Linked DNA regions of Homo sapiens: all the other regions are linked to region 5. The links are contacts of gene promoters, found by promoter capture Hi-C in blood cells and fetal thymus (Javierre and others, 2016). All regions are on one chromosome and are shown on one strand. The core of a region is centred on a gene start or on the middle of the fragment in contact, and the rest is flanking DNA. Distances in the headings are between cores, read along the strand shown. Region 1 overlaps RBM33-DT (RBM33 divergent transcript). Region 2 has its middle 15 kb from the start of EN2. Region 3 has its middle 3.5 kb from the start of CNPY1. Region 4 overlaps RBM33 (RNA binding motif protein 33). Region 5 holds the start of PAXIP1-AS2 (PAXIP1 antisense RNA 2). Region 6 overlaps CNPY1 (canopy FGF signaling regulator 1). Region 7 has its middle 30 kb from the start of CNPY1.

Region 1 (3,782 bases), core at 115-2,614, 710 kb before region 5:
AAAATGACCTCTGACATGTAGACTGCCTCTGGCTTGAAAGTACTGAATAATCTTAAAACACCTAGTGGGAAGCCATACCTTTAGCCTCTGTTACTGTCTTAACTGAATGTGGGAATCTAAAAGACAAACTCAGGGAACTGGTTTCCCGCCGGTCAAGGACTTCCAAGCCAAGCCCCCACCCATAATGGTTTGCTCCTGAATTGCATTTGGGCCAAAGAGTAGAGCTCTTCCATGCCTGTACCGCAGTGAAGTGTGTTTCTTCTCCTCAGTCCTCCAAAGTGGAGCTGCTGCCAGGCGTGGCATTATATGAGTGTCAGGGGTTAAACCTAAGAAGACTACCTAGTGAGCGCTGCAGTTTCATACATATCCTACTGAAAATCTTAAAAGCAAGCTTTGCTTTTTTGTAAATAAAGCGAATATAGAAGTCTTTCTCGTCTCAGTAATGATGAACTGGAAATTCTGTTCCCCTCCTCCAACAAAACAGATTCTGTGGAAAACATTTTTTGTTGTATTGCTAGGTTTTAGGAATAATGTTTCCAAAGGATCAAGAAGGAAGCAAAACGCTGGGCACAGTGGCTCACACCTGTAATCCCAATGCATTGGGAGGCTAAGCAGGTGGTTATCACTTGAGCCAAGGATTTCAAGAGCAGCATGGGCAACATGGCAAAACCCCATTTCTACAAAAAATAAAAATAAAAATAGCCAAGCATGGTGGTGCATACCTTTAACTGCTTTGCATAACTACTCTGGAGGCTGAGGCGGAAGGATCATCTGAGTCCAGGAGTTCGAGGTTATAATGAGCTGTAATAGCACCACTGCACTCCAGTCTGGGTGACCAAACAGAACCCCATCTCTTAAGCAAAACAAACAAACAAAAAAAAAACAGATCCAAAGCCTGAGCAGTTAGTAGTGTACAGGAAGTTCAGGGTTTCACTGGGGAAGTCATCCCCATTTGCACTGCTAATAGGAAGCAAATTCTTGGACAGCTTTTGAGGAGGGAATCTAAACCCCAGGCTCCCAAATTAGGCCAGAGATCCTGGAAGGGCTTTCTCAAATTATCCCCTTATATTCTTCACAGTTTAAGGTCAACCAACTATGGACTTAAAATCAAAGATCACAAAATGCACGAGGGAAGAAACCACTGTAAGTGAAAAATACAAACTAGATTGACCTCCTAGGGACTTTAGTTATTAAAATTACCATAAAGGACAATATTTGAAAGGTTTAAGGAAATAAAGGATGAAAAAAATCAAGAAGAGACTGTCTAGAGTAGCCAGAGAGTGCTTCCTTTTTGTTGTATCTGAACAATGTCCTAAAGCCATTAGGCAGCACTAGTGGTATAGCAGGGCTGGGAGAGGTGGGGAGGGATGTGCTGGCCAGGCTAGAGGATCGGAGCCCAAGCATGTGTTCCAGCTCATACCCTGTGAGAGGGCTGCCCAGCAAGGCATGTGAGAGCACCACAGGTTTCAAAGTATGTCCTGTGGATTGGCAAAGTGAGGAGGGCATCCACCCATGGGGGCAGTTCAACATGGGGAGTCACACATGACCGGGTTACTAGGACATGATCCTGAGGGATGGGCCCAAGGTGGAATTCAGGGCCCTACTGGGATGAGGTGGGAGTTGCCAAAGATAAGTAGACTAGAACGGCAGAACACAAGCATCGTGAGAGTTTTCACACAGGTGGGAGGCAGAGCACAGGGAATCAGAACTCCAGTTATAAGGGGACCTACACAGAAGAAGGTGACAACAGAGATGGCATGTTGGTTATGAACAGGGAAATTGATCAGATATATAAATATATGAAGGGTGATGGAGCTAAGTTTCACACTGTGCAAATAGGGAGTTACTTATATGAAGAAAAAGCTAAAATTAACCCTATGGTGTGTCACTAGAATAAAGAATCAGAGTGATTGCACTAATGGTTTTTGATAATTGTATTTCATTGTAGGAATAAATGTATATGCAAATATGTGTATGCCTGTTTTTGTATAACTGTGTGTGTGTGTATGTGTGTGTGTTTCCTAACTGTCCACCAAGAGTGCCCTGGAGACAGCAGCCCATCTTGAGCACACCCAGCACCTAGACCTTGGTTTCTAAATACCACTTTTCAAAAGGAACCAGTATTACTTGGAAAAACAACTGATTTCAGAACTGGGGCATGGAATTCGCAAGATCAGCCTGGAACATCTTGTTCCCTCCAAAAATCAAGGAAGTGCTTGAATAGTGATAAAGATATGTCAAAATGACACAGAAGTGAGATTTAATGGGCCAAAGCAGAGATGAGATGAGCATCAAATTAAATAATGAGAGCAATAGACTAAAAACAGGAAAGCTTGTGTCTATACAAATATTGATAAATAATAAATTGAACTTTATATGGAAACAGTATATCAAAATAGTTAAGGTGTTCCTTCCTAGAAAATATATATTAATTACATAGTAGAAAAGAATAATTTTCAGTGGAAAAGCCTCTAAAACCACCCTAACTGATCAAAGTAAACATTTTCAATAATGGGATAAATAAAAGTTGCCACCTGATATAATACAATAAGAAGAGTACAGCATCACTTCTGTGATCATCCTGTCAAAGATACCTAACCAAATCTAATTCTGAAGAAAAAAGGACAAACTCAAATTGAGAGACATTCCAGAAAATAATTGGCATGTAATCTTCAAAGATCTAATTACGAAAGTCAAGGAAACACTAAGAAAACATTTCAGACTGAAGAAGAAAAAGACATCACAACTAAATGCAATAAATGATCTTTTCACTCTTATTGGGACAATTTGCAAAAATTGATAGGGTCTGAAGGTTAGATGGCAGTAACACACCAAGTTAATTTCCCGATTTCAGTGATTAATACGCTGCATGTAGGAAGAAAGCCTTTGTGGTAAATACATACTACATACAGTGCTTGTGGCTGATGGGGCATCTGCTCAGCAACTTGGTCACACATGATTCACAAAAAAAGTTTAATTTTACTCTTAAACTTTCTACGGGTTTGTAATGCTTCAAACAAATTAAAGAGGAAAAAAAATCAAACACTGTTCAAAATACAGTTGTTAAAAAACCCAAAGGCAAAATTACACAGATGAGACAGAATTGAGAGAATTTGGGAATTAAGGGTAGACAAAAAAATTGCGCAGAATATAACACAAAGAGGAAAGGAGATGAAGGATGTGAATGAGAGGTTTAGCAATTGAGAGACTGGAATGAGGATGCCAAACACGTGATATAGCTTGAATGTTTGTATTCCTCCACCCCAAATTCATATGTTGAAACCTAATCCCCAAATGTGACAGTATTTGGAGGTGAGGCCTTTGGAGGTGAATAGATGAATGAGATGAGTGTCCTCATAAAGAAACCCCCAAGAGCTGCCTTGCCCCTCCCGCTGTGTGAGGTTAGAGTGAAAAGATGGCCACCTATGAGGAATGGGCCTTCACCAGACACTGAATCTGCTGGCACCTTGATCTTGGACTTCCCCACCTCCAGAACTGTGAGAAAGAAATTCTGTTTATAAGCCACACAGACTGTGTTATTTCATTACAGCAGCCTGAAGGACTAAAACACTGTAAAAGTGAGGTTCCAGAAGGAGAGAATAAAAAGTATAGAGGAGAGGCAATATTCGAAAAGATGATTTCACATGATTTTTAAGAATTAGTGAAAGACGTAAATCCAAAGATACAGGAAGCATAACAAGCATGGGGTAAAAAAAAAAATAAAAAAATCCACATCTAGACGTGGTGAAACTAAAAATTTGAATAACCAAAAAAGAGAAGAT
Region 2 (3,596 bases), core at 1,011-3,510, 540 kb before region 5:
TGCCTGGCACAGCGCATCCTGCTCCTGAGCACCTGGCAGATGCACACGATTGTTGTTATTGGTGCCCCTTTGATGGAGGCAAGCGTATTGCATCCCTGGTCTCTCAGCACCCTGAGGCCAAGGCTTGGTGGAGCCCAGAAAGAGATGAAGACAGAGGCCAGGCAAAGCCCCAGACAAGGGAGGGCCCTGCAGCTTGTCTCCACTACAGATGTGCTCCTGGGGCCACTGAAGAAGCTGGGAAAGGGAGGGCTCCATCCTTAGCTTTTCCCCAAATATTATAATCGAACACCTGCCTTGGCTCTCCGCTGAAAACAACACGATGTTTGATTTGATGCAAGATTATGTGTCCAGTCATTTTCAGTTTTATGTTCCTGTATTTCCCAGCCTCATAAAAAGTTCTTTAGCTTCCACTTTGAGAAGTTCAGCTCTAGACCTTATGGGTCTGCTCTATGGGAACCAGATTCCCTCGCATGAGAAGTCAGCCAAGCAGTAATACTAGCAGCAACAGTAACGGCTCCGTGCTAATGAGTGCGTGAGTGCTCTCCATGGTCTCAGCACCTTACTGGGCACGTGCAATGCAGAGCACCCAAGGGAACCCTGAGATGGCATGACCTGCAGTGGGCAAGGAGGATCCCCGTTGGCTCCTGCCTCCGTAAGAACGGTCACTGCCTTTGACTGAGCATTTATTCTGTGCCGGGCTTGTTACGTGTCTAAGTTCAACAGTCCTCTGAGGCAGATTAATTCCCCCATCTAGCATAGAGGAAACCAAGGCACAGCAGGTAAGGAGCGGTGGCAGGCTGCGTGGTGTCTCCCTCTGGCCTGCTGGTTCCAGAGCCCTGAGGGTGGCATCAGGCTGCTGCAGAGCCTCAGATCTCCAGGAGAGAGGAGGAGGGAGCCGGGACTTACAGGGAACTGAAACAACCAAAGGATAGCACATACGAGTTCATTATTTGCTATGTCTGCAGTTGGAAAATCACAGCCAGCCCTGGCAGACACTTACTGAGTGCTCACTGTACACCAGGCGGGATCCCAGTGCCCATGGGCACTCTCTCATGTGATTGTCACTGCAGGCTTTCAAGTTAATTCTATTATCTGCAGGTTTCAGATGAGGAAACCAAGGCCCAGAGAGGAAAAGGCACAGCAGGCATGACACCAGTGCCATCGGTGTTTGCTTCACCCTTGCAGATTACGAGGCAAGTTCACATGCATGTCGTCGGTGCTGGGGGACAGCGTCTCCCTGGGGACACACACATGCAGTCTGGCCAGGCCTAAACCAAGTCAGGATTATGTTGCTGGTGATGTAAACCAGCCAAGGTCGCGGAGAGCAATGCCACACAGCAAATAAGAGCTCACACAGCCCCACACACCCTGGCCAGCCCGGATAGCTTCCCTTCCCTGACCTCAGTCCTCTCCCCCGTAAAACGGTGTTAAGACCAGTAGCCACCTGGTGGGGTGCATTATGAGAGTGACTGAAGATAACCCACATACAATGGTGAGTATTGGCTGTCCTGGGTAGAACAGTGTACTCCCACATTAATGTCCTGGGAATATGTGAACGGAACCTTATTTGGAAATAGGGCCATACAGATGTGATCAGAGGAGGTCACACAGAATTAAGGGGGGCCCAAATCTAATGTAACTGGTGTCCTTATAAGCAAAGGGAAATTTGGGTACAGACACAGGGCAGAAGGCCGTGTGACAGCAAAGACAGAGATTGGAGTGAGGGGTTGCCAGCCTTCACAAAAAGCCAGGAAGAGGCGAGAAGGGTCTCCCCTGCAGCCTTCAGAGAGAGCCCAGCTGACACCTTGATTTTGGCCTTCTAGCCTCCAGGACTCGGAGAATAGACTTCTGTCGTGTGAACCTCTCAGTGTGTGCTACTGTTACGGCCGCCCTCAGAAACTCCTACACTGAGACCTAGTAGGAACTCAATCAACATTGGGTGTTATTATTATTTGAGACAGGAAGAGACATTACACCAATGCCTGGGAAATGTGACTTCCAGAACACGAACTGCAACGGAAGTGCTAGAGTGTGCACTAAGCTGGCTACAGCTAAAGGGCAGAACACTGAAGGGATTAGGAGAAACACGAATATGGGAGACACTTCCCTTCTAGGGTCTTTGTCCAGCTTTTCTTCCCGGGAATTTGGAAACTCACCGTTTATCAATTGTGTGCTTACAGTAGTGACAGTGTGTCTGCTTCCCACACAGACAAAAATATGGCAGGGATGGACATTCCCGAGTCCTGGAAACCAGGGACAGTCAGGGGTGGGTGGATTCCTCCCAACCTTCCAAGCTCTCTGTGGGGGAGGGGGATACTGCTGCCAGCTGCCCCTCCCCTCGGGCTGCCAGTTGCCTGGCCTGCCTGGGGGACTGTGTGTGCGCGCATAGCCTCCTGCACCCGCCCCCCCTGCTGAGGCCAGGGAGCCGGAAGGGCACAGACAGGCTTTGGAATGCAGGGCTGTGCAGCACACTTTAGTGGGAGTCAGGTTTTCTGCCTGAGGCAGAGGGAATTCTAACACACGCTAGAGCAGAAAGACAGAAATTGCCTTTTAGACGCGGCTGCCATCAGCAATATTTAGCAGGCAGGCTCTGCAGGGCCGTTTAACCTTCTGTAACCTTACAGTTAAGTGCTGGCTCGCTGGCTGGCTCGCTCTCTCTCTCTCTCTCTCTCTCTCTCTCTCTCTCTCTCACACACACACACACACACACACACATTCCTCTGTGCAGATATATCCGTGGTTCTGCTTAATATTTTACCACAGTGGTTTTATTTCAAGGGGAGCTCTACAGGCTGACATTTCTTCTTCTATGTGTGCCCAATATTTTACATGTACACACACGCAGAAACTTGCATATTCATATCTTCCAGGAATCGACACTTAAAGAGGGAGGAACCTGAGAGCTTCTTGCTCATCAGAGCAATGCCAAATGTACAGTTGGAGCTTGGCAAATAATTAATAGTAATGAAAATTGACATTGCAAAAATTAAAGTGAGAGGGCTGACAGAAAGGAATTGGTTTGGTTGTCAAACCACAAGCCTAAAGGGAAACAGATTGCTTTGGAGAATCTTTTAATTAATTTTTGAGTTTCCCTGTTTCTTCTCTGCTGCGTGAGCAGAGTTCCTTCCTCGGCCATCAGGATGCTCTACAGAAGGGGACAGGTCGGAGAAGGATGGATGGTGTTAGGGATGCTCCCATCTTGGAAGCCTCTGGAATTCCCCAGTCCCCAGTAAGGAGAGCTCAAGGTGGGGGTGACACAGCCCAAAGAGGGGTTCGTTTTGTAAATTTACTTTTATTACCGATGAATAAACCAAGAGGTCTAGCTCATTCATAGCTAAAATAAAAATGGATCTCTACAGTCTGACCAAGTTCAGCCACTGAGCTGCAGCATTAACTTGTATTCTAACAAGATTAAAATATATTTGTCCTGGGGATTAGCATACTTAAGTCCCCTTTTGCCTTTTTAGCGGTGGCAGGGCACTTTGATCTGCCTTGCGTGGCAAGAGCGCGGCTTGGGCCCAGCGATCCGACTGCCGAGTGTGAAATCAGCCTGATGTCATCCCATTCTTCAGCTTTTACATCTTTCCCCAGTTTAA
Region 3 (3,795 bases), core at 1,247-3,746, 620 kb before region 5:
CCGGGCCCTCCCAGGAGCGTGCACTCTTTGTCCTGGGAGCCGCGCCCTCTGGTTTTCTTCCTGGCAACTCCTGCTTGTCCTTGGAGGTCTTCCCCAGGACTGTGCATTCCTGCAACTTTCTCTTTCTCTGCAGTAACACTCAGCTCGCCAAGCTTGTTCATGGGATTTTTGTGGCTGAGTTGGGACCCTCGAGGATGGGGCTGTGGCCTCCCTCACTGCTGCACCTCCCACACCTGACCCAGAGCAGCACAAGGTTCAGAGAGTGTGTGAGTGTCCTGAGCCTGCTGCGCTGTCCCCACACACAACCCCCATTGTTATTGGCTTCAGTAGCAGAAGTGGAGCCTCCCTGTTCTGGGGGCCTGAAGTCTATCATCAAGACGGGCAGGGCTGCGTCCCCTCTGAAACCTGGAGGGGTGGATCTGTGCCTGACTCTTCCAGCTCTAGCGTTGCTGGTGGTCCTGGGCCTTCCTTGGCTTGTAGACACCAACGCAGTCTCTGCCTCTGTCATCACGTGGCCTTCTCCCATGTTGTGAGGTCACCTCCCTGTGTCTCTCCTCTTCTAGAAGGTCCCGTCGGTGGATCAAGGCCCTCCCTACTCCAGTATGACTTGGTCTGAATCAATCCCATCTGCAAAGACCCTATTCCCAAATAAGGCCACATTCACAGGTACTAGGGGTTGGGATGTCAGCTTATCTTTTTGGGGGACAGAAGCAGCCAACAGGGCAAGTAAGGAGAGGAGGAAGGAAGGAAGCAAGGAAGCTACTTTTGGGTGTGGTGAAGCTGAGACTGGATTCCAAAGCCCCTCTCCTTCCCGCACCTGCCTGAGCCACGGGCACAGCGGCGGGCCTGGTCGATGCTGTGAGTCCATCATGGGCCCTGATATCCTGTGGGCAGTGGGAGATGCTCCTGAGTTAGCCAGGCCTGGGGCGCCCAGGAGGCCGTGCACAGCAACATCCAGCTCACCCCGGCCTCTGCACAGGCGCAGCTCGTCATTGGGTTTCAGCCTCTTCTCATGGCCTCCTCGTAGCACAGAGTGGGGCCCGCCACACTTTGGGATGTCTAGAGACCAGGCTTAAAGAAAGACTGTGGCATCAGCCATTTCCACTTTGGGGAGCAGGAGTGTTGGTTGGGGGGAGCCACCCCTCCGTCACGTTTGCCTTGCTGGCCTCCTGCAGCCTTGGGAGTCGGGGCTTCATCTTCCCTCAAAGGAGTGTGGGGGGCACAGCCATGCAGGAGATGCAATGTGAGTGGTGGGAGTTGCATGGGCACTAATCACTACCATCGTAATACCAGGGCTCCTGCCTTGCTTATAGAAACTGCTAGAAAATGGTTTGTTCTAGAATTGAGCCATGTTCTCTGAGGTACCAGAGAAAGTGGCCCCTGCACCCCTCTTTACTGGTCAGCAGCACCTGCTCCGGAGAGGTGCAGGGTGCAGGAGAGCTGCCACTAGCCAGTGCACCTTGGGACAGGTAGGGCCCCCATTGCAGAGCACAATGACCTCCTGCATGTCAAAGACATTTGCAGATCTCAGGCCCAACCCAGACCCGACTCAGAGTCTCCCAGGCTGGGACCTGGGTCTGTACTTCTAGCAACTCCCCACGTGGTTCTGATGTCACCTCTGCTTGTGGCCTAAAGGCCACTGGAGGAAAATCCACATTGCCTGCAGCTTTGGATGGCTTGGTTCCCATAGCCGCTCCTGCTGGTGGGGAGAGTGGCCCAGACACCCCTGGAGGAATGGAGGCACGGCATCCACCACATGCGAGCTCCTTGGAGGGCACGGGCTGGGACTCAGACCTCGGTGGCTTCCTTGGGCCTTGCTCATAACCTTGAAAATGGCAAATGCTCAGATATTCATTGATCCCTTCACCTCTAGGGAGATGCAGCCTCCTGTGGGCATGTGCAGAGTGTGGGCAGGAGGGTTGTGGTGGCGGGGCCCTGATTTGTAGCATCTGCCTATGCCTGTTGTGTAAATACTCCCACCCCTGTTGATCCGGGCTACCTGTGTGATGTCACTAGCTGTGGAGTTGGGAAGCAGCACACATGCCATCTGCTCTTGCAAGCCCCTTGAGATGGTTCCGGCACCTGAGCCACCGGAGGCTCATCTGAATCTGTCGTGACATCTACCTCCATCTCTTTCCCATTTCCAAATCTTCCTCTAAGAGAGAAAGGGAGGGAGAGGGAAGGAGACAGCCATAGTGGCAGGGGCTGGTAGGCCCAGCGGGAGGGGGCTTGCCCTCTGGCAGGCAGTGTGACCCACCAATCCCCCCATGAGGCCCCACTCCCGCCGCCTGCTCTAATAAACTCTAAACTCCTGTGATTTAAGTGAAGGTTTCAGATTAACATTTAAATTAATGCCGGACTAGAAATCTGGAGCCCAGGTCGCTGATGTGACTGTTAACTTGTTCTGTGACCTGGGGCGGAAATTTAAAATGATCTTTTCTTGTGGAGCGGCCCCTCCGAGGGGAGGTCAGGGATGGCAGGCCTGGGGGCCTCCTGTCCTGTTGGAAGCCCAGCACCTTTCCTTGCTGACGGGGCCACCCTGACCTCAAGAAGCCCTGCATGGCCACGGGGGGCGGGGTGCTGTGCCCTGGTCCTGCTACTGCCATCCCGATGCTCAGGGCATTTGGGGATGCTCGATGACAGGTGTGCACTACAAGGGGCTCTGCCTTTTCACGGCCTATCTTGGTGCTTGTGAAATGTGGGCCTGAAATGAAGGCAGCAGAACATTAAAATATTGACCCAGAGAGCCCTGTGAGCTGAGCCCACTCACCGGCCCCTTTCCACTTCTGCCGGCAAGTCCAGCCTTGAGGGATCCAGGGAGCCAAGGACACCCACAGTGACCACAGCACAGGGAGCGTCCGGGCTCAGGGTGGGGCGGCTGGGCAGGAGTCTGGGCACGGGTCTGCAGGCACAGAAAGCAGAGAGATGCCGAGGAGAGACGGGGTCCCAAGCTAGTCACTGAGCCCAAGTCAGGGATTCCAAGCAGTCAGTGGGGCCAGGAAGGGGACAGCAGGCAGGCCACGCCTGGCAGGCACTTACAGACTCATGCAACACCCTCCCTACGATGGGAGAGACTCTGGGTAGAGCCGGGTGACGCTCATCCATGGCCCAGCAGGGTTTGACGCTGGCACTTGACGGCAAGGCCACATTCTTTCTGTTGGCCAGCACTGTCCTCTGCCAGCCAGGAGGTGAGGACGCACCATCTCCAGCTCCTGGGTCCACCAGGAAGGGCTGGAGGAGGCTGTCAGGGCAGAGGCCACCTGGGCCCCTGGAGATGCTGGGCTGGGCCCACCCCGGTTCTCGGGGAACCTTCACACCCGGCTGGCGGCCATCCTCTCGGGCTATGCATTTCTCCTCTGAAGTTGGCCTGGAGGCCAGAGGCCACCCCTCCTTTGTGCTGATTGCTTTGGCCTCTGCTTCCAAGACACCATTTCCCACCATCTGCCCTCTCTCAGGAGCCAGGGTAAAGGACATCAGACAATCCCATCCCTCTTCCTCCTAATCTCGTGTGGGAGCTGGGCTCCTGCTGTCCTCAGGGGTCCCAGGCGGCCCCATTCTCAGCAGTAACATGGTCACCGCCGGCTCTTCCTAGAGGACTCCTCATCTGAGCCTACTGGGCTGTTCACCACCTGTGGGCCCGGGATTCTGGGCCCACGCTCCCCTGGCAGCCCTGGCCCTGCGCTGACCGAGATCCCCCACTGGGGAGCACTGACCATGGAGGGTCCTTTCTTATTCCATCCCAGAGGTGGAAGGTGAGTGAGTGTAGTGAACTCAAAATAGCAATGGCTTAGACAA
Region 4 (3,766 bases), core at 1,111-3,610, 730 kb before region 5:
TTTAGACTCTGTTCATTTTTATGCATTGTTTTGTCGTTCTGCTCTTCCAATGGGATCATCTCAATTGACCTTCAAGTTTGCTGATTCTTCTGCTTGCTCAAATCTGCTACTGATCCCCTCTAAAGAGTTTACTTTAGCTACTGTACTTTTGAGTTCCAGAAGTTGTTTCCTTCTAATAATTTCTTTATTAATATTCTCTACTTCTTCATATATCATTCTCCAGATTTCCTTTAGCTTTTTGGTTCATAGTTTCCTAAAGCACGTTAAGCATATTTAAGAAGGTTAAAGCATCTGTCTAGTAAATCCAATGTCTGGGTATCCTTGTGGTTTCTATTTCTTTTTCTACTATGAATGGGCCATACTTTCAGGCTTCTTTCTATACAATGTAGTATTTTATTTACTATTTACTATTTAAAACTGGATATTCTGTACATTGCAATGTAGTAACTCTAGAAACCAGATTCTCCTTCCCCAGAGTTGCTGCTGTTACACAATGAAGGTTGCTGTCCATTTGTTTAATGGCTTTTTAAAACTACTATTTATTATATTCCTTAAGTGTGGTCACTGAAGTCTGTCTACTGTTATCTCCCTAATCAACCAGCGACCTGGTAGATTTCCTTAAATGCCTGCATCCAATAAAAAGGAAAAATGAACAAAGCTGAGGAGAAACTGCTTCAGCAGAGGGGGATGAAAATAACAGAGAGAGCCTCTGTACCAGCCCATCAGTGATGAAAACCAATGTTAGGTTCTCAAGTTCCAAAACGGTTGCTTCCAACAGTTCTTGCCAGGTCAATAGTTGTTCCACTGGAAGGACTGGCATCTGGCATTTCCCACTTGACTACCTTCTGTCACATCACAGACTGGCAGAGAGGATTAAAAACAAACAAGCAGCCGGGCGCGGTGGCTCACGCCTATAATCCCAGCACTTTGGGAGGCCGAGGCGGGTGGATCATGAGGTCAGGAGTTTGAGACCAACCTGACCAAGATGGTGAAACCCCGTCTCTACTAAAAATACAAAAACTAGCCAGGCTTGGTGGCGAGCGCCTGTTATCCCAGCTACTCAGGAGACTGAGGCAGGAGAATCACTTGAACCCCGCGGAGGTTGCAGTGGGCCAGAGGTTGCAGTGGGCCAAGATCACGCCACTGCACTCCAGCCTGGGCGACAGAGAGACACTCCGTCTCAAAAAAAAAAAAAAAAAAAAATCCAACTATATGCTGCCTATTAGAGACTCACTTTAGACCCAAAGACACTAATAAATTGAAAGTGAAAGGATGGAAAAAGATATTTCACGCAAATAGTAACCAAAAGGCAGCTGGCAAAGTTACACTAATATCAGATAAAATATTTTTAAATCCAAAATTGTTTCAAAAAGAAGGAATACTGTATACCGATCAAAGGGTCAATTCATCAAGATATAACAATTATAAACATATATGCACTGAAACAGAACACCAAAATTGATGTAGCAAATGTTGACAAAAATGAAGGGAGAAAGAGACTGATCTACATTAATACTTAGAGAATTCAACACCCCACTTTCAACAAATATGAAATCCAGGTAAAAGATTAATAAGGATATAGAGGACTCAAATACTATAAATCAACTAGACCTAACAGCCAATACAGGGTACTTGGACCAACAAGTGCAAAATATACATTATTTTTAAATGTAGAGGATGCACTGTCCCTGATACACGTTAGGCCAAAAAATAGTTCTTAATGAATTTTAAAACATCAAAAGTCATGCTTCATGAAAACAAGGAGCATTCCCTATCTATGAAAACAGAAGCAAAATCCCAATATTTTATAAGCTAAAAATTTAGCTTGTGACTTTTTTCTCATTAAGACACAGCGAAGAAATTAGTACTTAATCACAATCATCCATGGCAGACATTGCTAATTAATTAGAGCATCCACTGGGTGCAGTGGCTGGAGCCTGTTGCCCTAGCTACTTGGGAGCCTGAGAAGCGAGGATTGCTTGAGGTCAGAAATTTGAAGCTGTAGTGTGCCATGCTCATGCCTGTGCATGGCCACTGCACTCCAGCCTGGACAAAACAGTGAGACCAAAATAAGAAAAAACGAAAAAAAAGAGCATCTAATTCTGCTGAAACCAGAACATCTTTTTGCCAGGCTAGCTAATAACAAGTATTATAACCTTGTTAACAAGCATATAATCCTTGGCCTCCTCACTGATTTTTGATTCAGTGGGCTCTTTTTGCTTTTTAAAGTTCCCACTAATTCTGATGGACAGCTAGGGTTAGGAATCCCTGTGTTCATCTCACACTGTGCATCAGCGCGGGCACTCCGGAAGGAAATTTAACTGCCATCGTGCTACGTAGCACTTTCCGGAAATTTCAGAGTTAAATCTACAAAAGCCAAAATTAGAGGCCAGGATCATCAAAAATAATTAAAGTATTTTCCCAAAGGAGAGACGCCATAAAATACTAAGGAAAGTGGCTGTTGAAATCATTCCAAAATCAGAGAATGCAAGATAAGCAAAAAATATGAATACAAATGAAGAGTCATGAAACCTGTATCCTTCACTCGACAACTATTTCTTGACCACATAATATATGCCAGGCACTGTTCTAGACAACTGACATACAAGACAAAAAAAAAAAAACCTTCACCCTGTGTAGGTTACATTCTAGTAAGAAAAGACAAACAGTAATCCCAATAAACTAATATATGGTATGTAACTTAAGGCCTTTATTGGAAAAGACTAGAGCAGGAGGGTAAAGAAGACAGGAAATGAGGTAAGGGTCAGCTGGTACAAACTGGGCTGACTATAATTTTAAAAAGAATAGTCAAACTTAAGAAACAAATCAGTATTACATGTTAATGCAACATATTTTAATGACAAAAAGTCTATAAAACAAATATTTTTTAGTTTTCCAAAACTCTTTAATGTCTGACTTTGTAGAAAACAGCTGAATTCTTCTATCTGCTTCTGCATTCAATCTCTTGTGAGATATATACATACACATATTTTTTTTTTCCTGAGATGGAGTCTCACTCGATATGTTTTTTGACTGAAACACATGAAAGAAATCTGACTCCAAATAAATACGTAGTTGTAAAAAGAAGTACTTTGTCTTTTCAAACAATTTTAGATATTCTTCGATACTACACTAATAATCAAAAAGTGGCCACTTCTTAAAGACTGGCTGCAATGCAGAATCTGAAGCCACAGCAATTAATATTTCATACCTGTTATGTTAAAGTCCAAGCGTGTCTTGTACTGTTATTGGATCTTTAACCATGATTTTGTGCCACCATGCAGTGGTCATTTTGAAAATATTGGTGCCCTGATTTATGTAGTACTCCAAATGCTAACACATTTCATTATCCAATATACAAAATCACACTGGTTAACAACATCACCAATCTCACCAGGAAAGTCCTCAAGTGCTGGGAAGTTTTCAAGCTCACAATATCAAATATAAGTATTTCAAAATTCTCATTTTTGTTTGAAAACTTACATATTATCATTGGCAACAAATAATGTCCACTGTTTTACTTGAAGTGACAGGCTCACTTCATTTTCAAGAATGTATCCGCCAAGCACTAAAATCTGAATAACCACAGTCTGTCAATTGTCCTTTCAAGTAAAAATGATGTTCTACAGAAGAAATAAGAAAAGCTAGCTCAGCTCACAATTAAATTGAACAAGTACCTTTTTTTATTTTTATTTTTTAAGAGACGGGGTCTTGCAATGTTACCCAGACTGGACTGAACTCTTGGGTTCAAGTGAGCTTCCCGCCT
Region 5 (3,320 bases), core at 1-2,500:
TTCTGTCTATATTATTCCTGCCTGGATGACATAGTGAGGTCTTCACTGCTGGAGAAGGGAGGGCTGGTGGGCCAGAGGGGAGACCCTGCAGAGGTGTGCAGTGTCCTTCTCTGCTGTTCATCTCAACCCGCTGTGTTAGGAAACCAGGAGGAAGCCCTACCTGGAATGAAACAGGTGCCTAGAATGAAGAGGGTAAGGACAAGGTTTAAGACTGTGACACCTGTTGCTTAAGAGACGCATTTAGGAGTGTGGCATGTAGATCCCAAATGTCCGTTTTGTAAAAGTTGTTGTTATTGTTTCACTTTTGTTGTTGTTGTTTGTTTGTTTTGAGATAGAGTCTCACTCTGTTGCCCAGGCTGGAGTGCAGTGGTGCAATCACAGCTCCCTGCAGCCTCAACCACCTGGCTCAAGCACTCCTCCCACCTCAGTCTCCCGAGTAGGCGGGGCCACATGTGTGCACTGCCATTCCTGGCTAAGTTTTCTTTTAATTCTTTGTAGAGACAGGGTTTCCCTATGTTGCCCAGGCTGGTCTTGAACTCCTGGCTTCAAGCAATCCTCACACTTCAGCCTCCTAAAGTGCTGGGATTACAGGCGTAAGCCACCACGCCCAGCCTGTTGTTATTGCTTTGAAGGAGTTCAGGAAATGCCACCCCCATGGCACTTGGGAGTGCTGATCCCTGTGAGCTGAGGGCACTTGGGAATCAGCGGATGCAGGCAGAGGTTTCCTCTGAGCTCCCCTTACCTGCCTGAAGACGGATCCTCCAAAAGGAACTCAGCTGTCATGAATCGCCTCCCCAGGAATCTCGTCAATCTGGGAGGATTAACACAGATCACAGGAGAGGACACTGGAGGTGACATCAGCCCAGATGACTATCACCCGTTCTCCCGAAGGCGGCTCTGAGATGTTTACGACCTCAGAGACATTTCATCCACAGAGCAGCACAACCTTTACTCACCAGACAGTCCCTCCCCAGGCTCTCCCATCACTTGTGTTCTCACCTCCCCTGGAAGCCCCGGGAACTTCGAAGTAGGCTTCTGTGGACTCCTGCCACTTCATCAGTAGCTGGGGCCCTGGTACCAGCACAAACTGCTTGCATCCAACTGACTTCACCAGACATACGGGCGTCTTTGGTAAGACCGCTCTCAGGTTTTGAATCTCCCAGGTTTGGGCTGAGATTCAGATTTTATTTAAGTAAATGAATTTCATGCTCAGTGGGACTGATATTGAAGCCGCCATTTAGGGCTTTAAGGCAGGAGTTTCGCGTCATTTCTCTAAAGATTCTGCTATTGGCAGGTTTGTGGTTTCACTTTTCTATTAGGTTAAGTTTTCGTTCGTCTTACTTGCTCTTTTGTAACCTTTTCTCTCATTGGACATTTTACTTGCTCAAGTTTGTAACCTTTTCTCTCATTGGACATTTTTTTACTTGCTCAAGTTTGTAACCTTTTCTCTCATTTGACATTTGGTTAAAGAGAAAGCAGTTTTCTTTGTAAAAGGAGAAAGTGAATGTTTGTGGCTTAAGCCAAATTTGTGGCTTTAAACCAGCCAGGCTTTGGATCTTGGTTAACATTGAGATTTAAAGTTTCTTCCTGAGTCACCCAAAATTTGTAAAAGGTTGGAATGAGGACGTGATAAGCTGAAGACAAAAAGGACTCTTTCTCCCAGCTGAAAGGCACCTTAGGCAATGGAGGTAACACAAGGGTGTGGAAGCTCACAACAAACCCCAGAGAAGAACTCACAGGGAGAGCTGCTTAACCCCCGGGGCACACAACACACAAGGGGTTCGTCACCCAGTGCCTTGAACTCCCAGAAATGTCTGGGTTTCTCTGAGGTAGGTAAGAGGGAAGAAGCTACTTGTAGGTGATACCTCCAGGAATAATCCCTACTAAGCAGCACACTGGACCCCAAACACTTTTCCCTTTTAGCCTTTGGGCATTTTAAAAGAGAATCCAAATTATGAGCAATTATCCATCTATAACCAAGCCCTCATTAAGCAATGCACCTTTGGAAACTCCAGCGGGGTTTATGTACAAGACTTATGGCGCCACCTCCTGTCGATAGTTGGAGAAATGGTCTTATTTGACCTAAGAAGATCCTAAATTACAATGATCAAAGAGAATTATCTTTGAAATAGCTAGATTAGTTTATTTATATGCACAATTTTAAAAAGCCAGCTATGGAATCAAATAAAATAATTAAGAGAGTTACTTCCAATGGCACCCAGAAGCATCCAAAAGAGGTTTTGACAGAATTCTTCCCTTAGAGGAAGAAAATAAAAAGCACTCTAAAACCATTACTGAATTTTAAAAAACACTGAAATGTCTTCTTCTCTCCCTGCTCCCCTGTCTCTCTAAGCCTCCTTGTCAGAACTACCCAGCCCTGATTGACCTTCTCCTCCTCCTCCTCCTGCCCCTCCTCCTGCTCCCACTGGTTTGGCTCCATTTCATCCAGCATCTGGTAGAGGGGAACCTGCTTTATCAATCATGATCAAACTTACAGGCATAGTTAAAAGAATTCCTTGATCTTCACCAGGTTCCTATTGGTTTTGCTAGGAAATTTGAATTAAATATCCAAGCTTATGACCCTAGTTATTCTGACTTCTAGCAACAGATTCACATGTTAGTAGCAAAAATTAAAGCTAAAGGCTGGCTAGACAAAGCTCACTGGAGAAATCTGTTAGGGATCTTCATAAATGTTCAGAAGAGGACCATAGACAGGCTTGAAGAACAGCAAAGGCTTTGCATCAGGCTATCTCCTCAGTTTTTCAGAGTAGTCAACTGGAACAAAATACAATATCAACAAAATTCAGATGAGTCAGTAATATACTTTGAGGGCTGTGGAAAAAATTTTAAAGAATATTTAGTTTTATCCGAAGAAAGCTGTGCTAATCATCGAAATGATACTCGACTCCAGTTTAACAAATGAGTTAGATGAATTGGAACTAACAATGAAAAGACAAAGTTGGGCCACTTCTGATACTCATGATTTGGTCAGTCTCATTGACCGGTTATCTGATACCTTAACTGAAGAAGAAAGAGAGAGGGAAGCCAAACAAAAGAGCGAGGCTAATACAATTATGAATTTACAATTAAAACAACTATTCACACAATTTTGGCCTTCACAATACCCCTAGAAACTCCCTAATGGACCTAACCTTCCACTTTGCAATTTTTGCAAAAAGCATGATTACTTTCAAAAGAGTTGCCAAAAATGAAAAAGGAAAGAATGTTAACCAGTGGAGGCAGAAAAGAAAACAGGGGTGCTCCAAGGAACTTAAAGGGGCCTTTCATTTCCTCCTTACTAACACTGGGAGAAATAAAAA
Region 6 (3,403 bases), core at 237-2,736, 570 kb before region 5:
GCTCCAAACTCTTCTGGCTTGTTTGTTTTTCTTCTAAACGTTTTTTTTTTGGCTCACATTTAGTGTGTTGAGTTTACTACTAAATAATCTACCATTCTTCTACAGGAATGGAAAAAGAGTTGGGACCTGGTGGGAAATTATCTTTTGGCCACACTTAATATACAAAGTCTAGTAACAATCACTCCCGGAAATTTCTTTATCTCTGTTACATTTGCATTCAATGGAATCTGACTTTAATGATTAAAAATGTCAGGGTATGGTCTACACCAGTTTCTAAAAAGAGATTCTCATTGTCTTTGGTGACAATCAAGTGGGTAGGATGCTACAAATCCCCCCCCCAACCCCCCCGACCCAAAACTCTTTGCCATATTGTTACTTAGTTGCTTAAAAAGCACATTATGTGTTTAAATCATTCTCCTGACTCTTCAGCAGGAAACAATTCTTAAATTTAGGAAAATTTACCAAAGCTAAGGGGAAGGGCTTTCCATGCCCCCTCCCCACCTAAACTCTGATTAAAAGTTAGTGAGTTAATGTCACTTAATTACTTGGGTGCTTCTTTTTTGTCTTGTCTGTGGCTGCTTAAGTCTGATGGCTCCTACATAACCCAGCGAACTCGCACCCGAGCTGACACACGATGGAAATAGAACTGAATAATAATTAACACTATTTTCCAGTAGGGTAGGACAATTGTTATTTAAAACATAGTCCCTATAGCTTTATTTAAACGTATCTAGTTAAGGTTAATTTGGCATTTAAAGTAGTAAATCAGGAACATTCTCCTAACTTGGATTTTCTTGGGAAATGCACTAAACAGGACAATTATTCCTGAAAACCTAGTGACCTTCACAGGAACATGGCGGGACCTGTGACACTAAGTAAGCTTCAGTGAAAACTGTTCACGGTCGTAACCGTAGAAGTGTTGCCAAATCTGTTTCCATACTCTCTTTGATCATCATCAAACATTCTCAAATGTAGGCAATGCTAACACTAATTATAGAAATTAAGAAAATGTGGGCTCCTGTTTGTAACTAAACGGACGTGGGGAGGTGCACCTCCTGTCACTGAGGGGTGCCTTTCATGGACAGTGATGCTTTGCTTTGAATGGAGAGGGCGAGGAACCTTGACTTACAGTGACTATCTAAGGTTGTGATAAATATGGCATTTCAGGTTTTTTTCTTGGATTTCCCATTAAAAATAGTCTTGTATCTTGCAAATTTTTAATATCTCATGACTTGTGTATTTTTTCTTTCCAGAATTTTTTCCAGATCAAACTTGCCAAACTCATGTAAATATTCGTAGCTTACAAAGTTACTGATTCAACCTGTATTTGAGTGATAACACCTAAACCACTGGATTTCTTCTGGCTTCAGGAAGTCTTAGGTTTCCCTGTGGGCCACTGTTAGGTTGTGCTGCTTTTGCTAATGAACAATGAGATAGAGTAGCTACTCACTTTAGCATCCTCCTAGCCACCTTGGTGCCTTGTAAGTCACATTTATTGACCAAAACCAAAATAAAACAAGTCATGGGGAGGAAACAAAAACAAAAACAAAATAAAAGAAACAAGGCAACATTATAGGGTGAGAGAACGTTTCTCAGAGTTGATGAAAAGCTGCCTAATTCTATGTCCAAAAAAAAATCCCTGGAAAAACACGGGGTGGGGTGTGTAATGCTTATTAAAATAATGAGGAGAGAAGACTTGTTTGAGGCTGCATGGTTTCAAATTGTTCTTTTATGAGATGGTTGGTTTGGGTCTCCATGAAGACACGTGAACCTGTTCTCATAAAAAAAAAAAAAAAAAAAAAAAAAAAGACCAAATTGGCTGAGATGGCCAGTTTATTTTTTGTGATGTGGATTACTATTTGCTAAGAACAAGCCAAGGACAATGAATCCATTTTACTGAGGAGTGGAGAGCGGGATTGTGCTGAAGTCCCAAACGGGAAAGATCAATACTTTATTTACTAAGACAACCCTAAAAAAATAGAGTCGATAGCTGGCTGTGCTTTTATATCTGTTTCTTGGCTTAGGTTGATATTTATTCACATACGTAATCACTATATCTAAATAAAAATGATAAACTATATATCAAGCTTAAAATTCAGATTGTCATGGAATATGAGAAAAGTCATTCTTAGATGTGATTTTGTGGTCTGTTTTAAAACTTGGTACAAATTTGTGAGCTAATGTTAAATGTGCTGAAGCTCACGCAAGAGGATATTGTATAGTTTGATACCAAGATGCAATTAACAATGATACTAAACCATCACAATATGAATGCACCTGTGACATACAAGTGTGTTATTATGATTCCCTAGCTATAATTTAATTCCCCTTTATACATTTCTTAAATTCCTCAGATTAGTTGCTTTTAGAGCAAGAAACCAAGTGGATAAAAAGATCAAATACAATAAATGAAATAGAATTATGGAAGTTGTAAAACTGTACTGCCCTTAAATGACCTAGGGAAAGATAACAGTAACTGATACTGCTCTCACGCAAAGTTTAACTTCTTGCCCCTTCCCCTAAATGTATGTTTGCTGAGGAGAGAGGCTCTGCTCTTTGTAGTCCACTTTTCACGATCTGCCCCAACGGCAGGAGGTGCTGATGATATTTAATATAATATTGGCTCATTCACTTGTGGGGCCATCACCAGAAACATGGGGCTTTGCTTCAGAAGGACAGTTTGTGGAAGAGGAGTCTTACATGTCACATACAGCTCTCTACCCTTCTGGGTTCTTCAGGAAAGTCCAAAATTAGATGGATGGATAAATAGATAAACAGATAGATAGAAACTTGGAAATGTAGATACATGCATACAAATACACAGACACGGACATACATAATAGAGAGAGGACACGGAGATCAGCTAGAGCTTCGAATTTCCAGTGTGGAGATCTCAGGGAAAAAATAGGGTCTTTATTTCTAATTCCTTAATTAAAGAAACATTCCTATGCTCCTTATCTTGGAGAATTATCTCAAGATTTTCATGAAAGAAAAAAAAATTACAGTGGACATAAAAAAGATTCTACCCTGCCACAGTAAGAAATTCGTAAAACATATTTAATCTCTTATGAAGTTGCTGGAAAACAAAAATGCCATGAGGCTGCACTGGAACTAGCTTAGAATCTTATAGTATGTGTCACTGTATGGAACATGGATTTCAGTAAACCATGGATTAGATAATTTCCCTCTAAAGCATAATAGCACAGAGTAAAAGCCCAGTACAGTAAGGTGAGCAGTTTGATAGTCCTGTTCCCTCAAAGCCACAGGGCAGGGGGAGGTTCACAAATCACAAGCTTAGTGAATCCAAGATGTGACCCAGAGGGACATGGCCTTCCCGTGGAGCTGATAAGGGCTCCAGTAACTTTCTTCTCCTTTCGGGATTGTTAACACACCAGCATCTAGG
Region 7 (3,800 bases), core at 1,290-3,789, 650 kb before region 5:
CATAGATATCTACGTAGATACATAGATATCTACATAGATAGGGATTTCATTCCATGGGTATATAGATATCTATGTAGATAGATGGGGATTTTTTCCCATGGATACGTAGATATCTATGTAGATAGACAGGGATGTCATTCTGTGGATACGTAGATATCTAGTTAGATAGACAGGGGTTTAGATATCTATGTAGATAGACAGGGGTTTAGTTATGTGACTCCACAGATAGCTCTGTAGATAGATGGAGATATATGAGGGGGTTCTTAGGGTAATTGTGAGGCTGAGGAGTCCCCGGACCAGCCATCTGCATGCTGGAGACCCAGGGAAGCCCACGGCACAGCTCAGGCCATGTCTGAAGGCCTCAGACCCAGGGAAGCTGATGGTATGATTCTCAGTCCAAGGCCCAAGGCCTGAGAGCCCTGAGGGCTGCTGGTGGGGGTCCCAGAGCCCGAGAGCCAGAGAGCCTGGAGTGTGAGAGCCCAGGAGAGGGAGCGCGAGCAATATGCCTGCGCTCGGCCTTGTGTGCTGTGGGCCCGCAGCGGCTGGGTGGCACCGGCCCAGGCTGGGGGCTGAGCATCCTTCCTCAGTCGCTGATTCCAACGCCAGCCTCTCCCGGAAATGCCCTCCAGACACACCCACACCTGAAGACACACCACACCAGCTACCCGGGCCTGCCTTCCCCAGTCAAGTCATCACCTAAAGTTCACCTTCACATCCTGTTTTACAGATTGGGGAAACTGAGTCTCAGAGGGGCTAAGTCACGGACCCAGTTGGTCCCTAACAGGAGTAGGCAGGCCTGTGTGGCCAGGAGGTTGGAGCCAGGTGCTGCTCCTCCCTCCGTCCTCACTGCAGCCCGGGAGCAGGTAGAGCCAGGTGCTGCTCCCCACTCCGTCCTCACTGCAGCCCGGGAGCAGGTAGAGCCAGGTGCTGCTCCCCACTCCGTCCTCACTGCAGCCCGGGAGCAGGTCAGAACCAGGTGCTGCTCCCCGCTCCATCCTCACTGCAGCCCGGGAGCAGGTCAGAGGTGTCAGACCAGCCTCGTCGGGGACTGGGGCTCATGCTTGTCTTGCTGGCAGGTGGGCTTGAGGGGAGGGATGTCGAGGGGACAGGCCAGCGTTTTCCTCAGAGCTGGGTGCCCTGCCCGGCCCCACCAGGCCCCGGAGTCACTATCGGCAGACAGAAGGGACCATGGCTATTTAAACTCTACGCTCATCCCGGCCCAAACGATGCTGCGCTGATGCTCAGGTAAAGGGTTGGCTAAGAAGGGGGACAGGCCACCCACAGTGCCACATGGTGTGGCGTGGATGCACCTGTCATTCTGAGGACCCCGCCCCTCCTCAGCCCTGCACAGCCTCGTCATGCTGCCCCAAGCAGAGGAAGCAGCGGCCAGAGTCCCGAAGGAGCCGTCCAGGGGCTTCAGTGGATGCTGGGATGGGGTCTGTCTGGTGCTGGGATGGGGTCTGTCTGGGAAGTACAGAGGTTCCCCTGGCCTTCCTGTGGTGTTTCAGCCTGGACCTGCCCAGGGGGCTGAAGCTTGGAATGGCCACCAGGGTAGGTGCTCCACAGCGCTGGGCAGGACTGAGCCTGTCTCTGGGGGAGGACCACAGACAATCAGAGGACAGCGCAGGCCTAAAAGTCTGGGCCAGCAGATGGGGAAGAGTCAGTGACACCAATGCCACACCCAAGGTGACACCAGTGCCTCCAGGTAGCGTCAACCGTGTGACTCACTTGACACAGGCCATGGACTTGGAGTGCCCGCCCAGGGTGACCCCGGTGAATGGCGGAGTTTTGTAGAATGCAAGCCCAGCCCAGCAGTCCACGCCTTCTTGCTAAGCTGCTCTGTACACCGAATGAGTGGGCTGGAGTCGCTCAGCTCCTTCCGCATTTAGTCCTCTCTGATTTCCTTTGGCCACAGAATAAAACAATCTGCCAAAGTGTTTTTCTTCTATTTTTTTCTGTTTTGTGCAACAGAAAAGCCCAGAGGAGAAATGAGGATGCAAAGAGAAAGAAAAAAACCCCAACCAGAGAGCTGCAAGGATATCAGGAAGAGGGAGCGTCCGGGGACGGAGCAGAGCGCGCTTTTCCGAACGCCTTACTCCGGGCTGGGGCTGCTTTCTGCAAGCCCGTGCGGTGCACGTGAGGAGGCTTTCCTTGCGGTGGTGAAATCAAACACACCTAAGGCGTGAGTCCTCCAGACTTTCCTCACCTGGGCAGCTTGGCCCCGGCCACCTGTGCCTCGCCCGGAGAAACTCCAAGTAAGTGTTCCTGACTTCAAGGGTCGGAGGTCTGTTTGCTCAGGGCTGGTTGGTAAAATCGAACGGAGAATGAAAGCTAGAGCTTCTGAAGCACATGAAGCAGGAGGGAAGCTTTAGACTCCCCACTCGAAGGAGAGGGCTCCCCTGTCCGCGGGAAGAAAGTCTTTTTTCTTAAGCTCTGTCAGTAGCTCAAAATCAGGCCACGTTTTAGTCGGCTTCACGTTTGCACCACGGCTTTCATCTACAACTGTTTGTTTTTCCTAGAGTTAAAAATACCTTTCTTTTTATTTTATATTTGTTTGTAAATAGGAAATATACTCAAAAAAAGGTACAAAATGTCTATAGCAAAAATTCATTTCCCTTTTTTTGTTTCCGTTTTGAAACTGCCACCCAGTTAGCATCCCCACAGGTTTCACCCACTTACGCCTAGTGTTCCATTAGTGGAACACTAAGCTTGTGGGACTTACTTATAGCCTACTGCTCAAGGTCATTGCCAAGGTCTGATTTTTCACAAAAAAATATTTGCGACCTCTGGCATAAATGGGTTAAGGGTAGGGTCCCAACAAGACGGCCCTTGCTTCAGATGCCACCCCCAAGTGAGGTCCCCAGGCGACCTGCACCTCTGACCAACTTGCTACAAATCCAGGGGCTCCCCTGATGACCTCAGGTTTTATAATTTACTGGAACACTCCCAGAGCCTTCGAAAGTGTTGCACTTGAATCTCGCTTTGTTGCCCAGGCTGGAATGCAGTGGCACGATCTTGGCTCACTGCAACCTCTGCCTCCTGGGTTCAAGCGATTCTCCCACCTCAGCCTCTTGAGGAGCTGCGATTACAGGCCCCCGCCATCATGCCCAGCTAATTTTTGTATTTTTATGGAGACGGGGTTTCACTATGTTGGCCAGGCTGGTCTTGAACTCCTGACCTCAGGTGATCCACCCGCCTTGGCCTCTGAAAGTGCTGGGATTACAGGCATGAGCCACTGTGCCTGGCCACGATCCCATTTTCATAATAAAGAACACACATCAGGCCAGCCAAATGAAGAGACACATGGGGTGAGGGCTGGTTGGGTCCTGAATGCAGAGCTTCCATGTCCTGCCCTGTGGATCAGCACACATCACCTTCCAGGCACATCTGGACCCTCCACGGAGCCTCAGCATCAGAGCTTTTATTGGCATCTCGTTCCATAAATACGACTGGTTGAGTGATCAGCCAAGCTGGGGAAAACTCAGTCTCTGCCTCCTCCATTGCCTCCCAGAGGTCAGCAGGTTGGGCCGATAGCCCTGGGCCCAAAGTCCTAGCCCTCTAATCATATGATTGGGTTTGCTAGTGACCACCTCCCATCCTGCAGGTATCCAGGGACCATGCTGGCTCACCTCATTAGTATAAGCTACCAGGGCCCACTGTGAGTAATGTGAATAATGAAGACAGTTTAACCACTTGGGAAGTTCCCAGGACTTAGAGTGCTGGGACAAAGGCCAGATTTTGTATTATCCAAGGGCCCTCAGCCACTCAGTTTTTCTGCCCAGAGGAGACTGATCTTGGTA

The links. The method cuts DNA at HindIII sites, captures the fragments that hold promoters and counts their contacts. A CHiCAGO score of 5 or more calls a contact.
Region 1: a fragment that was not itself captured here is called in contact with the fragment with the promoter of PAXIP1-AS2 in region 5 in 9 of 17 cell types (fetal thymus, total CD4 T cells, activated CD4 T cells and 6 more); the score reaches 14.5 in fetal thymus.
Region 2: a contact is called between a fragment that was not itself captured here and the fragment with the promoter of PAXIP1-AS2 in region 5, in 2 of 17 cell types (total B cells and fetal thymus). The highest score is 5.6, in total B cells.
Region 3: a fragment that was not itself captured here is called in contact with the fragment with the promoter of PAXIP1-AS2 in region 5 in 1 of 17 cell types (total B cells); the score reaches 5.4 in total B cells.
Region 4: a contact is called between a fragment that was not itself captured here and the fragment with the promoter of PAXIP1-AS2 in region 5, in 2 of 17 cell types (fetal thymus and naive CD8 T cells). The highest score is 6.1, in fetal thymus.
Region 6: a contact is called between a fragment that was not itself captured here and the fragment with the promoter of PAXIP1-AS2 in region 5, in 3 of 17 cell types (total B cells, naive B cells and fetal thymus). The highest score is 7.2, in total B cells.
Region 7: a fragment that was not itself captured here is called in contact with the fragment with the promoter of PAXIP1-AS2 in region 5 in 1 of 17 cell types (M0 macrophages); the score reaches 5.1 in M0 macrophages.

The regions. Positions count from the first base shown.
Region 1 is chr7:155,638,561-155,642,342 of GRCh38, reverse strand. RBM33-DT (RBM33 divergent transcript) reads left to right here. Exons shown (of 3, transcript NR_126344.1): 3 at 1-427. Among named protein-coding and RNA genes, the nearest start is that of RBM33-DT, 4.0 kb to the left of the region's middle. The HindIII fragment of the contact is 1,941 bases long and covers 394-2,334 here.
Region 2 is chr7:155,471,803-155,475,398 of GRCh38, reverse strand. No RefSeq gene overlaps it. Among named protein-coding and RNA genes, the nearest start is that of EN2, 15 kb to the right of the region's middle. RefSeq lists enhancers at 2,285-3,596, 3,241-3,596. The HindIII fragment of the contact is 7,565 bases long and covers 1-3,596 here.
Region 3 is chr7:155,548,197-155,551,991 of GRCh38, reverse strand. No RefSeq gene overlaps it. Among named protein-coding and RNA genes, the nearest start is that of CNPY1, 3.5 kb to the right of the region's middle. RefSeq lists an enhancer at 3,317-3,795. The HindIII fragment of the contact is 4,683 bases long and covers 155-3,795 here.
Region 4 is chr7:155,655,822-155,659,587 of GRCh38, reverse strand. All of the region lies in intron 1 of RBM33 (RNA binding motif protein 33), which reads right to left. Among named protein-coding and RNA genes, the nearest start is that of RBM33, 13 kb to the right of the region's middle. The HindIII fragment of the contact is 9,727 bases long and covers 1-3,766 here.
Region 5 is chr7:154,926,447-154,929,766 of GRCh38, reverse strand. It overlaps PAXIP1-AS2 (PAXIP1 antisense RNA 2), which reads right to left and starts at 1,250. Exons shown (of 8, transcript NR_024476.1): 1 at 1,000-1,250; 2 at 743-811. RefSeq lists enhancers at 620-839, 990-1,089, 1,110-1,169. The HindIII fragment of the contact is 7,419 bases long and covers 1-2,575 here.
Region 6 is chr7:155,498,940-155,502,342 of GRCh38, reverse strand. It overlaps CNPY1 (canopy FGF signaling regulator 1), which reads left to right. Exons shown (of 5, transcript NM_001393663.1): 5 at 1-1,214. Among named protein-coding and RNA genes, the nearest start is that of EN2, 43 kb to the right of the region's middle. The HindIII fragment of the contact is 1,207 bases long and covers 883-2,089 here.
Region 7 is chr7:155,575,005-155,578,804 of GRCh38, reverse strand. No RefSeq gene overlaps it. Among named protein-coding and RNA genes, the nearest start is that of CNPY1, 30 kb to the right of the region's middle. The HindIII fragment of the contact is 342 bases long and covers 2,369-2,710 here.